3 separate regions of the Homo sapiens genome follow, and regions 1 and 2 are each linked to region 3. The links are contacts of gene promoters, found by promoter capture Hi-C in human tissues and cell types (Jung and others, 2019). All regions are on one chromosome and are shown on one strand. The core of a region is centred on a gene start or on the middle of the fragment in contact, and the rest is flanking DNA. Distances in the headings are between cores, read along the strand shown.

Region 1 (3,316 bases), core at 772-3,271, 380 kb after region 3:
TTATTCAATGTGCTTCCTCTCCAAATCGGGAAACAGTATGGGAAATAATACGGTAAAATCATAACGGCTGATACTGATTAAGTGCTTACTATGTGCTGCATATAATTCATTTACCTGCAATAATTCATTTGATGTTCCCCACATTATGGTGCCATTTTACATGTAAGGAAACTGAATCCTAGGGAGGTAACTTGCCCAAGGTCACATAGTCAGTGGGTGGCAGAACTATGTTTTAAACCCAAGGAGTCTGACTCCAAAATCAATGCTTTTAACCATTCTGCTATACTCCCTGTCTAGCAGAGAGGAAAGAACATATTAGGATTCAGAAGACCTGGAGTTTCTACCATGAACTAATTCTGTGAACTTGTACATTCACTTAGGTGTCTGAACATCAGTCTGTTCATCAATAGAATAAGAATGAGAATGTTTATCTTACAAGGCTTCTTGAAGGATTATGAAATGCTGAAAATAGGAAATTATAAAAGATATTATTTTGCTAATCATAAGACTTAATACCCTTGACTTCTAATTGGGTCACGATATTATAGGCTGTCATTGAGACCCTTAGTTCCCGTAACCAGTACAGCAGCAGCAGCTTGGTGGTTCCAGTTCCTTTGGCAGGGCAGCTGATTCTCTAATTTTTTTTTTTTTTTTTGGAGATGGAGTCTCGTTCTTGTTGCCCAGGCTGAAGTGCAGTGGCACAATCTCAGCTCACTGCAACCTCTGCCTCCCGGGTTCAAGCGATTCTCCTGCCTCAGCCTCCTGAGTAGCTGGGATTTCATGCCCACCACCACGCCTGGCTAATTTGTGTATTTTTAGTAGAGAAGGGGTTTCACCATGTTGGCCAGGCTGGTCTTGAACTCCTGACCTCGCGATCCACCTGCCTCGGCCTCCCAAAGTGCTGGGATTACAAGGGTGAGCCACTGCGCCTGGCCATGGGCAGCTGATTCTCATCCCATCAGCTTTAATGTCCCTGACCAAGTGTCCCTGATGACCGTCATGCACAGGTTGGTGCCTCCTTCCCCCGAACCAACCAACACATAATCCTACCTCTGGGAAGAGTTGCAGTTTATGCCCTTGTTTCTTTAATGCCATTGCCTGAAAGAGTGGCTATTAAAAATAATAAATAGCCTCAGGCCTGGCACGGCAGCTCACGTCTGTAATCCCAGCACTTTGGGAGGCTGAGGCAGGCAGATCACCTGAGGTCAGGAGTTCAAGAACAGCCTGGCCAACATGGCAAAACTCTGACTCTACTAAAGATACAAAAATTAGTCGGGCATGGTGGCATGCACCTGTAATCCCAGCTACTCGGGAGGCTGAGGCAGGAAAATTGCTTGAACCCGGGAAGAGGAGGTTGCAGTGAGCCGAGATCAAGCCACTGTACTCCAGCCTGGGTGACAGAGCACGACTCCGTCTCAAAATAATAATAATAATAAATAGCCTCAAATGCAGCTAACTGTGAGGTACACACCAGAGAGCCAGTTCCAGTTTCGTGGTAGAAGCACAGATATCAGAGCTAGGAGAGAACTTCAAAGTAATCTTTCAATGGAACTCCCCAACCCTCCTCCCAACCCATTTTATAGACTAGGAAAACCAAGGCGAGGTAGATGACACCACTAGTTAGGGTTGTCAAAACCATATCTGGAAAGTACTTCAATTGCACATATTTGTTTCAGTATGCATACCTTTTCAGAAAGGAGCAAAATCCTAAATTACCCATAAATCTATTATAAAACCTTAAATCCAATAATTCACTCAAAGCCCATTCTTTGAGTGCCCTTACTTGACCATTTCAGGCATTCCCTGGATAGAAACGGGCCCTCATCTTCAGGGGCAGTACATAACCTAACGGCTCTGTACAAAGCTCACCCTGTTACCACTGGCTCATCTCTGAGCTGAGTTCTCTAATCTGGAAGAACAGCACCTACTTCTCAGAGCTGGAGTGGGGGTGGGAGTGTCACATGAGATGATGCGCTTTTAGCACCCACCTGGCACTCTGTGAGTTTGTCATGATTTGGGCATAATTCCTTCCTCTCCTAAGCAGGCAGCAGTTCACCTTGGTTAAGGACCTTGGACCTTAGACCACTCAGACGCTAACAAACCAAGGAGAAACCCAGCCGTGTCAGGCCTAGAAATGTCTGCCCCCACCCCCACCCCCCTCAAGACGGTGACTAGGCCGGAATTCTCCTGGTTGATAAATGAGAGGAGCTGAGAAGCGCTGAGATGCCTGTTTGGAGCATCTGATCTGTAGAAGACGAATCTTCACTGTGCCATGGAGATGTTCTGGGAGGGAGAGCCGGCCCAGCTGCCTGAAGGAGGACGCGAGAGCGAGGGGACGGGTGAGAGGAATGCTTAGCGGAGACGGACTGGAGGTGCCCGGAGAGGAAAGGGGAACGGAGGCTGGATCTCGGGAAACCTCGTCGGCAGTGTCATTAGAGGAAGGATCGCGTGTCTCGGGGATACGGATTTTGGAGGAAAAGCAGAATAGGGACAAAGGTGAGGTGTCCGAACCGGGGAGATCAAGACCTGTAAGCTGTGGTGGGGGACCCAGGGACCAGCGAGGACGGGAAGGCGGGGTTTTGGGGGGACCCCGCACGGAAGGTGGCTGGGGGTCGGCAGCCGGCCTCGGAGCTGCTGCCGCGTTCGCCCCGAGGCAGGTCAACTACCCCGGGCGGGGAGCGGCGGGGAGCACCGAGAGGGGCCTCGGTTGCCATGGCGCTGGGCGGGGAAGGGGCGACTCGGGCCCCGCCCAGAGCCCCGCGGGGCCGCCGGCTCCAGATGGTCCCGGGCCTCCCGCGGGAGCCGGCGGCCTGCGGCAGGGGGAGGCTATTGTCCTCCTTCCGCGGCGCCGCAGTCCCGCCGCTCGCGCCCGCGCGCCGCCGCCACGCGCCCCGCCGCCGCCCGCCCCGCGCGCCCCCCGCGCCGCCTGCGCCCCGTGACAGCGCCCGCCCGCCGCCCGCCGTGCGCCCGGCCGCTGCCTGCAACCGCCCGTCGCGGCCGGGCTGCAGGCGCGGCAACTACCGGTGCGCCCCCGCCCGCCGCGCCCCCGCCCGCCCGGCCGCGGCTCCGCGCCGAGGTAGGTGCCGGCGCCCCGCCCGCTTTGTCCCGGCCCGCGGGGCGGCGCGCTTTGTCCGGCCGCGTGCGGTCGGCGGGGTCGGGGTCGGGGTCGGGGTCGGGTCCCGGCGGCCGGGGTGAGCCGGGGCGGGAGCAGGCGGGGACGGGACGGAGAGGGTCCCGTGCCAGCCACACAGGTACCGGGATGAGGGCGGTGGGGGCCAAGGCCGAGGGGGGGGGACTCGGGCCTCTCTGGAGCCGG
Region 2 (3,338 bases), core at 1-2,500, 310 kb before region 3:
ACAATACACATCACAACAGACAATAAACCAGCAAACGCCAAAGTCAGGGATCCTCCTCCACTGTGTTCCCTGCTGTCTTCCCAAAGCCTGGTACAGCATGTTGGGAATGGCAGCCACACAGTATTCGTTGGCTGAACGAGTGACTCACCTTCCTTAGGACTTTCATGGCATATATTTTGCCCAAGTTGGTGCCTTGCACCTTTCGCACCTGGAACACCTGTAGGGCAGGGGAGACAGGATCAACTTCCCTCTCCACATCCTATCTTCAAGAAGCCCCACCCTGAAGCTCTGGCTTTGGGATCAGGAGGCCTAGGCCCTGCCAAGGGTGGGGCAGTGAAGATTTCAAGTCCGATTGGAGAGGATTTGGCCTTCCCTCCTTTATGTTTCTGGCTCTGAATCCCATTAGAGGCCCTGCTGATTCACAAGTCTAATTTGTTTTGAGAACCCTTTGCTGCCTCCAGATGGAGGCTGTGAGGCCAGGAGGAGGGTGCGCCCGCCCCTACCTTGCCATAGCCCCCCTTGCCCAGCACACGCAGCAGCTCAAAGCAGTGGGGCCCGATGCGCTCTGGGCCAACGTTCACGCTGGTCTCAGTCAGCTCCACCTCTTCATAGTGTCCCACAGGCCTACGGACACAAGGAGTTAATGAGGACAAGGCTCCAGTGCTCCCCAGTTCCCCTTCCCCACTCCATTCCCCCCTCCCCCAACACGACCCTCACTCACTCTAGGCCAGCTGCCCTCAACTCGGCAAGGGGACATGCGTCCTGTGAGAAACCGAGGGGTAAGAGCCAAGGAAGGTGCCAGGATACCTCCCCGCTCCCGTTCAGGTTGGACTGCGTGGCCCAGGAGAGAAGGGTGTCAGGGATGGCAGCTAGTAGGGGATGGGTAAGAATTGGGAAGAAACCGAAGGCAGGAAAGGGAGAATCGGGAGAAAAGGCTGGGGTTCTGGAAGAGAGGTCGGGGTGAGGGTGGGATCAGAACTTAATAGAGACCGGGATCTGAGAAGGATCTGGGTCTGCAAAGAGTCGGAGCCCGCTCTGGGCGTGCGGAGCCGCCGCTCCGGCCTCGGCTGGGTGACAGGATCGGCTCCAGGATCCAGTCGCGCCAGGGCAGGGCACTCACCGCGGGGCTGAGCTCTGGCTCGCCCTCGCCCTCGCTGCCTTCCTCCGTCTCCAAATCCAAATCAAACACGGCCGCCATGGCGGCGCCGGCCCCGCGGGCCCGTCGGCCCGTACCTGGCCGCGCACTGACTGACAGTCCCGGACCTAAACATCATCTCTCCGCGACGGCAGCTGCGCGCGCCGGTGACGCAAGGGATCTTACTCCCCCTCCGGAAAATCGCTTAGCCTGGTGGGGAACAAAGATGGCTTCCGTCGCAAGGCCTCTCGGGAATTGTAGTCCTAGAGTGGCGAGGCGCCTAGCCTTCAGCCTGCAGAATCCTTTCCGCAGGACCCTCGGTCTTCCCAGCAAGGCTTTCTGGGAGCCCGTTTTGGTTCTACGGTGTTTTGAGTTTGGATGGAGCAGGGTCGGAAGTGTATGCAGGTGTGAATGTAAATGCAATCCCCAGCCCTGTTGGAGACGGGTACTGCCAGGCCGGCTGCGTGATGAAAGGCAGGTCGCGTTGCTTTCGGTTCACTCCAGAAAGGGAGGCGGCTGCATCAGGGTCTCCTCAAAGTGCCTCTGGCTCGAGGACCCTGCAAATCGGAGCATTTACTGAGTGGCCAGCTCACTGCCAGGCTATGTTGCCAGGTTCCCGCCTTAAATAGGGTTTTGGGGGTCAGTGATAGACCTGTAAATATGGGATTTTGTTGGCGTTTACTCCCTTCTTAATTTAAGCACATTTAGGCACCTGGTACAGAATAGACACTTCAAAAAACGTTGTTGAGGCCGGACACGATGCCTCACGCCTGTAATCGTAGCACTTTGGGAAGCCAAGTTGGGAGGATCACTTGAGGCCAGGAGTTCAAGGTTACAGTGAGCTATGATGGTGCCACTGCACTCCAGGCTGGGTGACACAGTGAGATCCTGTCTCAAAAAAACAAACAGGCCGGAGGCGGTGGCTCACACCTGTAATCTCAACACTTTCGGAGGCCGAGGTGGGTGGATCACTTGAGGTCAGAAGTTGGAGACCAGCCTGGCCAACATGATGAAACTCTGCCTCTACTATAAATACAAAAAATTAGACGGGTGTGGTGGCGCGCACCTGTACTCCCAGATACTCGGGAGGTTGAGGCAGGAGAATCGCTTGAACTCGGGCGATAGAGGTTGCAGTGAGCCAAGATTGCACCACTGCGCTCCAGGCTGGGCGGCAGAGTGAGACCAAGTCTCAAACAGATAAAACCCGAAAACCTGGCTGGTCACGGTGGCTCACACCTGTAATCCCAGCACTTTGGGAGGCCGAGCCAGGCGGATCACCTGAGGTCGGGAGTTCAGGACCAGCCTGACCAACATGGAGAAACCCCGTCTCTACTAAAAACACAAAATTAGCTGGGCATGGTGGTGCATGCTTGTAATCCCAGCTACTCGGGAAGGCTGAGGCAGGCGAATCACTTGAACCTGGGAAGCGGAGGTTGCGGTGAGCCAAGATCATGCCATTGTACTCCAGCCTGGGCAACAAGAGCGAGACTCCATCTTAAAAAAAAAAAAAAAAAAAAAAAAAAAAAAAAAAAAAACTTTATGGTTTTTTTTTCTTTGTTTTGTTTAGTTTTTCAGACAGGATCTTACTCTGTCACCCAGGCTGGAGTACAGTGGCAAGATCGTGGCTCATTGCAGCCTTGACTTCTTGGGTTCCAGTGATTCTCCCACCTCAAATCCCAAGTAACTGGAATGACATAATCACATAATCTTTTTTCTTTTCTTTCTTTCTTTCTTTTTTTTTTTTTTTAGAGGGGAGGTCTTGTTTTGTTGCCCAGGAGGCTGGTCTTGAACTTCTGGACTCAAGTGATCCTCCTGCCTTGGCCTTCCAAAGTGCTGTGATTACAGGCATGAGCCACTACACCCAGCAAAAACCAAAAACGCTGTTGACAGAATGAACTTAGGCCAGGCAGGGTCGCTCATGCCTGCGATCCCAGCAATTTGGGAGGCCAAGGCGGGTGGATCACTTGAGGTCAGGAGTTCAAGACCAGCTTAACCAACATAGTGAAAACCTGTCTCTACTAAAAATACAAAAATTAGCCGGGAGTGGTGGTGCATGCCTATAGTCCCAGCTACTTGGGAGGCTGAGGTAGGAAAATCGCTTGAACCTGGGAGGCAGAGGTTGCAGTGAATCAAGATCACGCCATTGCACTACAGCCTGGGCAACAGAGTGAGACTCCGTCTCCAAAAAAAGAAAAAAAAAGAA
Region 3 (3,750 bases), core at 287-2,786:
AAAAAAAAAAAAAAAAGAAGGGAAGGAAGGTTTTAAGTAAAGATGCTTCAATATTTAAGAAACTTGAAGTTTTCATGTGAGTCAAGAGTTTGCATAGACATTAAGTGTGATGACTTATTCCTCGATTCTCTTCCCCCTCCCTTTTTTTTTTTTTTTTTTTTTTGAGACAGTCTCACCGTGTCACCCAGCCTGGAGTGCAATGGCATGATCTTGGCTCGCTGCAACCTCCACCTCCCGGGTACAAGCAATTCTCCTGCCTCAGCTTCCTGAGAAGTTGGGATTACAAGCACCCGCCACCATGCCTGGCTAATTTTTGTGTTTTTAGTAGAGACAGGGTTTCACCATGTTGGCCAGGCTGGTCTCAAACTCCCTGTCTCAGGTGATCCGCCCCCCTCTGCCTCCCAAAGTGCTGGGATAACAGGCATGAGCCACCACACCCGGCCCTCTTCCCTATCCTAACTCCTGGTTTCTCTCCCCGACCCCCGACCCTGGTGTCTCCGCTTTCTATTCTTCCCTCTTCCCTGACTCCAGCTGCCTCTTTCTCCTCATCACCTGCCTCCTGAAGTCTCTTTCTTTCCAGCCTTCTCTCCATCATTTGGCCCACCCCCTCCTCCATGTTCATCTCACTCTCCTGGCCCAGTATCATCTGACTGAATGGCTTTCCCACTTTCCTTTACCATCCATTTGTTGCCCTTAATCACCTCAATCCCGTGCTCTCTGATTTTGTTACTTAACCATTTCCTGAACATCTCCCTCCACCCGCACCCCCCACCCCGGGAAAAAAGAAAAAAAGAAAGAAAACTTCTTCTAGGGTTAAAGGGTGTTGGGGGGTGATTATAAGCTTTAAGTGATAGAAAGTTTTCTTTTTTTTCTTTTTTTGAGTTGGAGTCTCGCTCTGTTGCCCAGGCTAGAGTGCAGTGGCGCGATCTCAGCTCACTGCAAACTCCACCTCCTGGGTTCAAGCGATTCACCTGTCTCAGCCTCCTGAGTAGCTGGAATTACAGGTGCCCGCCACCGTGCCTGGCTAATTTTTGTATTTTTAGTAGAGACGGGGTTTCACCATGTTGGCCAGGCTGGTCTCGAATTCCTGACCTGGTGATCCACCCACCTCCGCCTCCCAAAGTGCTGGGATTACAGCCGTGAGCCACCACGCCCAGCTGAAAGTTTTCTTTCTTTTTTCTTTTCTTTTCTTTTTTTTTTTTTTTTGAGTTTGGAACCTGAATTGATCAGGGGGAAAAAAATGAAGCAGAAATGCCCTGCAGATTCTTGGATCATCAAACATGGGTGTCACATGAGGTTCTTGCATGGAATGTGGCTGACGCTTTCCTTGGGACCATGGGACCACCACCCTCCCTGGCCCCATGCTTCCTTGCTGCCATCTTTTCCAGGTATGTCACCTTCCGCTGTGCAGACCCACTGCTCCTGAGCGCTGGGGTGTACTTTGGCTGTTGGGGCAACTGCAGCAGTGTCTGGGCCCCACCTGCTCTTTAGCAGCCTTAGCTTCGCTTTGGGGCCAGGCCACCCTCATTTCTCACTTCTAAAAGGGTGGGACTTCCTGCTGTGCCCGAGAGTGGAGCTCTAAGATGCAGAGCCTGTGCCTCAGCTACACCTGTGCTTGCTGGGGGAAGTTTCTGGCACCCTGGGGTTTCAGGGTCTGTTTGCAACCTTGCACTAGATTCCCAGCTTGGGTTGGTGGTGACAGTCATACAGGGCTCCAGCCACTTCCCCAAAGGGCCAAATGCTTAAGCACTTAGACCTGTTTAGCCCCTCCCAATGAGTCTGATCTTTTTTTATCTTCTTCAAGGGCATTCGCTACCTTTCATCAGTTTCTGCTAAAGCTGGTGTTCCTTCAGCCACTTTGTGAGAGGTTCTGAACCCGTCAGAACTTCAGTTCTCTTTAATAAAACAGAGTAGGCTGGGCGCGGTGGCTTAAGCCTGTAATCCCAGCACTTTGGGAGACCAAGGCGGGCAGATCACCTGAGGTCAGGAGTTCAAGACCAGCCTGGGCAACATTGTGAAACCCTATCTCTACTAAAAATACAAAAATTAGCTGGGCGCGGTGGCACATGCCTGTATTCCCAGCTACTCGGGAGGCTGAGGTAGGAGAATCACTTAAGCCTGGGAGGCAGGCGGAGGTTGCAGTGAGCCCGAGATCGTGCCACTGCACTCTAGCCTGGGCAACAGAGCAAGACTCTGTCTCAAAAAAATATATATTATATATAATATATGTATATAAATATATATAATATATATAAAACATAATACATGTATATAAATATATATAATATATATAAAACATATATTTAAAACATATATATTTTATATATATAATGTATATAAATAAAACAGAAGTAGTGACTCCTGCCCTGTTTCCTCCTAGGATTGTTGTGGAGTGAAATGGACTAATGGACATGAATACCCTTTGGAAACTAGAAGACAACTTATTTTAGAAAGGATTTCTGAGGTCTTGCACAGTGCCTCATGCCTGTAATCCCAGCACTTTGGGAGGCCAAGGTGGGCAGATCACCTGAGGTTGGGAGTTCGAGACCAGCCTGACCAACATGGAGAAACCCCATGTCTACTAAAAATACAAAATTAGCTGGGCATGGTGGCACATGCCTGTAATCACAGCTACTTGGGAGGCTGAGACAGGAGAATCACTTGAACCCGGGAGGCAGAGGTTGCAGTGACCCGAAATCGCGCTTTTGCACTCCAGCCTGGACAACAAGAGTGAAACTCCATCTCAAAAAAAAAAAGAAAAAAAAAGGATTTCTGGTTTTCCTATTTTTAAAAAATTTTTTACTTGGTAATTTTTTTTTTCATAGAAACAGGGTCTCACTATGTTCCCCAGGCTGGTCTCGAACTCCTGGCCTCATGTGATACTCCTGCCTTGACCTCCCAAAGTGCCTGGGATTACAGGCATGAGCCACTGCACCTGGCCAGTTCTCCTATTTTAAATTTATTTTTATTTTATTGTGGTAAGAACACTTGATGTGAGATTTACCATTTTAACAAAGTTTTAAGTGTACAATGCATTGTCCAGTTTCTTTTTCTCCTACATGTAGGATTTGGGTACTTACTGAGTACACTGTGCCCAATGCTAAATTAAGTGCTTGGATAGAGAAAGGAGATTTGAAAAGTTAGAAGGCTTGACTTTTACCTTCGAAAACTTCATATCGAAGAAAGGACACCATGAAGATGTGACATACTCAGAGAACAATCATCATTCCAATGAATTGCTGGAAGATCATTTAGACCATAAGAACTGGTCTTCAAATTGCACTTGGATATAAGCCCCGTGGGGCAGGAAGTTTTGTTCATTGCTGGATTCCCCAATGCCTAGAACAGTGCCAGGCATAGTTGGCACTCATTCCTTCATATTTATTGAATCAGCCAATAAAGTAGTGCAGTGTTGCTTTTGAGGGAAGGAATATGAAGGCTGGAGAGCATTGAATCCTTGCAGAGAAGCTTGGTTTTGTGAGAGCAAGAGAGGCACATATGTTCTGGAGCAGAGAAGGTTGATGTAATAGTAATTGTTGCAGAGAAACTGTTCCTGCAGCTGTCATTGCAGCTGGAATAGAAGTGATAGAAACCAAATCCTGTACTACTGCAAACCAAGCCAGGAGGTATGTGAATCTTGGGCCAAGTTCTTCACTGTCTTTTTATTCCAGCTCCTCTTGTGATCTTGTCTTTCTGCTCCACTTACCTCTACTGTCTCCAGTTTAGGATGTTGACTTTAGAGTCCACGTC

The links. Contacts are between HindIII fragments. The study calls those that stand out against the background at their distance.
Region 1: a contact is called between the fragment with the promoter of SPTBN2 here and a fragment that was not itself captured in region 3, in 1 of the 25 tissues and cell types used here (dorsolateral prefrontal cortex).
Region 2: the fragment with the promoter of RPS6KB2 here is called in contact with a fragment that was not itself captured in region 3 in 1 of the 25 tissues and cell types used here (dorsolateral prefrontal cortex).

The regions. Positions count from the first base shown.
Region 1 is chr11:66,727,921-66,731,236 of GRCh38, reverse strand. SPTBN2 (spectrin beta, non-erythrocytic 2) reads left to right here and starts at 2,021. Exons shown (of 38, transcript NM_006946.4): 1 at 2,021-2,496. The HindIII fragment of the contact is 42,487 bases long and covers 1-3,316 here.
Region 2 is chr11:67,426,406-67,429,743 of GRCh38, reverse strand. RPS6KB2 (ribosomal protein S6 kinase B2) reads right to left here and starts at 1,250. Exons shown (of 15, transcript NM_003952.3): 1 at 1,121-1,250; 2 at 722-762; 3 at 504-624; 4 at 149-217. The coding sequence starts at 1,198. RefSeq lists enhancers at 5-772, 1,207-1,456, 773-1,540, 1,557-1,706. The HindIII fragment of the contact is 10,585 bases long and covers 1-3,338 here.
Region 3 is chr11:67,111,286-67,115,035 of GRCh38, reverse strand. LOC107984341 (a long non-coding RNA gene) reads left to right here. Exons shown (of 2, transcript NR_160735.1): 2 at 2,381-2,744. Among named protein-coding and RNA genes, the nearest start is that of KDM2A, 6.1 kb to the left of the region's middle. The HindIII fragment of the contact is 5,381 bases long and covers 1-3,750 here.